Linked DNA regions of Homo sapiens: region 1 is linked to region 2. Evidence: promoter capture Hi-C in 16 types of primary human blood cells and fetal thymus (Javierre and others, 2016). All regions are on one chromosome and are shown on one strand. Each heading gives the region's core, a stretch centred on a gene start or on the middle of the fragment in contact. The rest is flanking DNA. Distances are from core to core; before and after follow the strand shown. Region 1 overlaps RIMKLB (ribosomal modification protein rimK like family member B). Region 2 holds the start of A2ML1 (alpha-2-macroglobulin like 1).

What was found. The method cuts DNA at HindIII sites, captures the fragments that hold promoters and counts their contacts. A CHiCAGO score of 5 or more calls a contact.
Region 1: a fragment that was not itself captured here is called in contact with the fragment with the promoter of A2ML1 in region 2 in 3 of 17 cell types (erythroblasts, M2 macrophages and naive B cells); the score reaches 7.6 in erythroblasts.

Annotation. Positions count from the first base shown.
Region 1 is chr12:8,709,596-8,712,500 of GRCh38, forward strand. All of the region lies in intron 1 of RIMKLB (ribosomal modification protein rimK like family member B), which reads left to right. Among named protein-coding and RNA genes, the nearest start is that of RIMKLB, 13 kb to the left of the region's middle. The HindIII fragment of the contact is 4,798 bases long and covers 1-2,905 here.
Region 2 is chr12:8,821,117-8,823,953 of GRCh38, forward strand. A2ML1 (alpha-2-macroglobulin like 1) reads left to right here and starts at 1,505. Exons shown (of 36, transcript NM_144670.6): 1 at 1,505-1,597; 2 at 2,066-2,249; 3 at 2,604-2,766. The coding sequence starts at 1,536. All of the region lies in intron 1 of A2ML1-AS1 (A2ML1 antisense RNA 1), which reads right to left. The HindIII fragment of the contact is 3,171 bases long and covers 1-1,777 here.

The DNA of each region.
Region 1 (2,905 bases), core at 27-2,526, 110 kb before region 2:
GGCCCCATCGCTTGGGCACCGAGGAAGGCTAGCCGCATGTCCTCCTGTGGGAATGGCAGTGTACCACTGGACAGGTTTCACTTTCCCTGGTTTCACTTTCTGTGGTTTCAGTTACGCCCTGACACAGTACAACAGGATATTTTGAGAGTGGGAGAGACACCGCATTCATATAACTTTTATCATAGTATATTGTTATAATTGTTCTATTTTATTGCTAACATCTTACTGTGCCTAATATGCAAATTATCATAGATATGTATGTTTAGGAAAAAACATAGTATATGTACTATCTGCAGTTTCAGGCATCCACTGGGGGTCTTGGAATTATCCCTTGTGGATATGGAGGGACTACTGTACCTGGTAATCAGAGATTTAATGTAGAAAAATGTGGTTTTTGTTTTGTTTTGTTTTGAGATGGAGTCTTGCTGTTTTCCAGGCTGGAGTCCAGTGGCATCATCTGGGGTCACTGCAGTTTCGACTTCCCAGATTCAAGTGATTCTCCTGCCTCCGCCACCTGAGTAGCTGGGTTTACAAGCATGCACCAACACACCCGGCTATTTTTTTTTTTTGTATTTTTAGTAGAGATGGAGTCTTAATCATGTCAGCCAGGCTGGTCTTGAACTCCTGACCTCAAGTGATCTGCCCACCTCAGCCTCCCAAAATGAACTACCGCTCCCCGCCAGTTTTGTTTGTTTGTTTGTTTGTTTCCTTCTTTTTTTTTTTTTTTTTTTTGATGGAGTTTCGCTCTGTCACCCAGGCTGGAGAGCAGTGGCACGATCTCCACTCACTACAACCTCCGCCTCCTGGGTTCAAGCGATTATCCTGCCTCAGCCTCCCGAGTAGCTGGGATTACAGGCATGTACTGCCACACCTGGCTCATTTTTGTATTTTTAGTAAAGACAGGGTTTTGCCATATTGGCCAGGCTGGTCTCAAACTCCTGACCAAGTGATCCGCCCACCTTGGCCTTCCAAAGTTCTGGGATTACAGGCAGGAGCCATCATGCCTGGCCTAGAAAAACATGTTGACTGAAGGCTTTGTGGCTCTTCAGAGGGGAATATTATTTTCTGATTTCAGAATCATCGGGAACACTGTTGTAGCCCATGTAATTTCTGACTACTGATGTATCAGCAGCGGAACATTTCTGCTTCCCAATTGCTAGTGACTATAACATTCCATCCTGACTGCTATTGGGGCAGCAACTGCCACACTCAGGTGAAGACCCACTGTGCAATGAAATTAATCATTGATTGGCAAGGCATGGTGGCTCACAGCCATAACCCCAGCACTTTGGGAGGCCAAAGTGGGAGGATTGGTTGAGGCCAGGAGTTTGAGATCAGTCTGGGCAACGTAGTGAGACCACATCTTTACCAAAAAAAAAAAAAAAAAAAAAAAATTAGAGACCGGGCCTGTTGGCTCACGCCTATAATTCCATCATTTTGGGCAACATGGCAAAACCCCATATCTACTAAAAAGAGAAAAGTACGAAAATTAGCTGGGCATGGTGGTGGGCATCTGTAATCCCAGCTACTCAGGAGGCTGAGGCAGGAGAATTGCTTGAACCCAGGAGACAGAAGTTGCAGTGAGCCAAGGTTGCGCCACTGCACTCCAGCCTGGGTGGCAGAGCAAGACTCCATCTCAAGGAAAAAAAAAAAATTAGCCTGATGTGATTTGCTCCTGTCATCTCAGCTACTTGGGAGGCAGAGGAGACAGGTGGATCACTTAGGCCGAGGAGTTTGAGGCTGCAATGGGCTATGATTGCACCACTGCACTCCAGCCTGGGTGACTGAAACCATGTCTCAGAAAGAAAAAAAAAATCATCTGCAAACGGATGAGTTTCAAGAGCCGAGTGTCAGGCCAAGGCACGGACATAGCTTCAGAGTGTTGGAAGTCAGTGACAGAGTCTTTTAATCACTACTGATTACAAACTTTTTTTTTTTATTATTATAAGTTTTAGGGTACATGTGCACAATGTGCAGGTTAGTTACATATGTATACATGTGACATGCTGGTGCGCTGCACCCACTAACTCATCATCTAGCATTAGGTATATCTCCCAATGCTATCCCTCCCCCCTCCCCCAAACATTTTAAGGGCATTTTTACAATTCCTTCATCAAGGGGAGCTGGGGATATTCTACGTCAGGTATTCTGGCGTGACTTTTTCTTTTGTGGAGCTTTGCTTTCTGAGACCTTCCCAAGTGGCCTGGAAGGCACTGTGTGGCTATAACTTTTTTCTAATGAGCATAGTATGTCTTTGGGTACAGCGTCTGGTCAGGGACACACTGTGGCCTTCCCTATGATTGTCCGCAGGGAAGAGACCGAAATGCAACCCATAAAAAAAGTCGTTCCATCAGGTTGAATTGACAGTGCAGGTTTGCACTGTACCTTTCCCATACTGTGGTTAAAATGGAAATCTCTTTTCAAGAAAAGTTTCATAGGAGAAAAAGTTTATCAGAAACACTCTGTTTAAGGAGGAGGGAGGATAAGGTTTACTGCCTGTAATATGCATGGAATATCCTGCTGTAGGGAAGCCATAGTGTTTATATATTTTTCATTTTAATGAGCCTGGTCCTTATCTTCTTTTTTGTGCGCGTGAGACGGAATTTCTCTCTTGTTGCCCAGGCTGGAGTGCAATAGCGTGATCTCGGCTCACTGCAACCTTTCCGCCTTCTGGAAGAAATTAGCTAGGTATGGTGGCACATGCTACTTGGGAGGCTGAGGCAGGATAATCACTTGAACCCGGGAAGCGGAGGTTCCAGCAAGCCTAGATCACACCATTGCCCTCCAGCCTGGGTGACAAGAGTGAAACTCTATCTCAAAATAAATAAATAAATAAAAATAAAAAGTTATTAAATATTCAGAACTGCTAACCCTAGAGCATCCGACATTAAGTTAGCATAGTTCC
Region 2 (2,837 bases), core at 255-2,754:
TTGCCATTGCAGTTCCCCTGTCTTGATAAATCGGCTCTGTCTAGGCAGCAAGCAAGGTGAATCCATTGGGTGGTTACAAAACGGGGTCTCACTATGTTGCCCAGGCTGGTCTCAAACTCTTGGGCTCAAGCAATCCTCCAGCTTCTGACTCCCAAAAGCTGGGATTATAGGCATGAGCCACTGCACTTAGACTAATTTATATTTTAGGTGACTTCTAAGTATTACCATCATAAAGAACACTGTGGGCTGGGCACGGTGGCTCATACCTGTAATCCCAGCACTTTGGGAGGCTGAGGTGGTCCCTGGAGCTCAGGAGTTCGAGACTAGCCTGGGCAACATGGTGAAACCCTGTCTCTATTAAAAATACAAAACAATTAGCCAGGAGTGTTGGTGCCTACCTGTGGTCCCAGCTACTCAGGAGGTGGAGGTGGGAGGATCGCTTGAGCCCAGGAGGTCAAAGCTGCAGTGGGCTGAGATTGTGCCACTGCACTCCAGCCTGGGTGATAAAGTGAGACTCTACTTCAAAAAAATAAAAAATAAAGAAAAGAAAAAAAAGAAAGAACAGTGTGAAAAAACTCAGTGTTACACTTGTGCATACATGCATGCTGTCCTTTTTTTCCTCATTAAGAAACATTTCCAGAGTAGGAGTTGCTGAGTGAAAGAATATGCAAATCTCAAAGGCTTTGGTGTGTATTACAAAATTGCCATGAGAAAGTTATCCACATTCTATTTTCTCTAGGACTGTGTGTGTCCCTATTTCCATACAGTCACAACAATACTGAGTAGTATTAATTTTTTTTTTTTTTGAGACAGAGTCTCGTTGTGTCACCCACGCTGGAGTAAAGTGGCATGATCTCGGCTCACTGCAACCTCCACCTCCCGGGTTCAAGCGATTCTCCTGCCTCAGCCTCCCAAGTAGCTGGGACTATAGGCACCCACCACTATGCCCAGCTGATTTTTTTTTCTTTGTATTTTTAGTAGAGACAGGGTTTCACTATGTTGGCCAGGCTGGTCTTGAACTCCTGACCTGGTGATCTGCCCACCTCAACCCCCCAAAGTGCTGGGATTACAGGCGTGAGCCACTGTGACCGGCCAAGTTTACTGCTTTTCTATTGAAACTGTTCTCATACCCGTGTTCCCAACTACACCTTAATTGAATAATAAAAGAAAATAAGGACATTAAATGAGAACAGGAATTGGAATGAGACCAGAAAAAAAGGGAGGAGTTCAAAATATGTTCTGAGAGCTTTACCATTATGAATACTCAGCTCTGGTTTTCCCCCAAAACTGGCTGAACCAGTATGGATGTTCCAGGCAGAAACAACTTTAAAGAAGTGAATAGTGGCCCTACCCTGGTCCACCACCTAACCTGGTGGTTACAGAAGGAGGAACACAGTCCTCCTGTGTTCCAGGTGCCAGGAGGTGACTGACTATAGCATCAGTCATCACTGCACACCCTACCTGGAATTAGTATATAAAGCTACGCGGAGCGATCTCTGCCCCTGACCCTGGAAAAATCTGTCTCACCCACAAAGATGTGGGCTCAGCTCCTTCTAGGAATGTTGGCCCTATCACCAGCCATTGCAGAAGAACTTCCGTGAGTGCTTGGTGTCAGAATTGGTTTATTAGGGCAGCGGCTTCTTCGCCTAACTTTCTCAAACATTTATATGGAGATGGGGAGATCAACTTTGGTTTATCTTAATTTCCTCCTCCTTTTTTCTCTTCTTTGGTTCCACTGATCCTTTACCCAGAGAGGGAGGCTGACGCATGAAGAGGAAGCTTTAAAAAAGATAAATATTAAAATGTGCCCTGTTTTCTGAAATAGGCCTAATTTCCTCCTTGGTGCTCTAGGCATGTGTGCTCGGTGAGGGCCTCCTGATGGCGGAAGTTGAAGACTGTGCACTGAGTCGTTGCCCCTCTGCTTCTTGTAGAAAATGAGGTGCATAAGGAAGGCAGGGGCTTGGTCTGTCTAATTCACTGCTACTTGCTGAGCGCTTAGGAGAGTGCTGGATTTTTCGAGTGAATGAATCATTATTGCCCTGAAATCCTTCTGCTCCTTTAATAGAAACTACCTGGTGACATTACCAGCCCGGCTAAATTTCCCCTCCGTTCAGAAGGTTTGTTTGGACCTGAGCCCTGGGTACAGTGATGTTAAATTCACGGTTACTCTGGAGACCAAGGACAAGACCCAGAAGTTGCTAGAATACTCTGGACTGAAGAAGAGGCACTTACATTGTATCTCCTTTCTTGTAAGCACAGACTCAGCCCTCACTCGAATCCCTTACTTGCCTATTCTCCTCCCTAGGCTCACTATAATCTACTTTAAGTATAATTTCTGTTATCTTTTGCCACGGCCTCTAAACCTATTTTTTCTCAACTTAACCTCAATCCCCGGCTATAACTCACCCACGGTTTCCTCGACCTAGGATTTCTCCCTTTAGTTCCTGACCTTAATTCTTCCTCGTGGTAATTTGTTTTATGTCTCTATCCTTGCTACCCCCATCTAACTCAGCTCTTTCCTTTAACTCACTGTTGGGTTGAGACCAGTTGATTCTGTTCCCCCAATCCCTTACCCCTCCCCAGAAGTCCCCTTTCTTGGTCAGGTACCACCTCCTGCTGGTGGCACAGAAGAAGTGGCCACAATCCGGGTGTCGGGAGTTGGAAATAACATCAGCTTTGAGGAGAAGAAAAAGGTTCTAATTCAGAGGCAGGGGAACGGCACCTTTGTACAGACTGACAAACCTCTCTACACCCCAGGGCAGCAAGGTAAGAGTCACATATTTGGGGTTCGACTAAAACCTGGGGAAACCGCTGTGCACAGGGGTAAAGAGGGGATT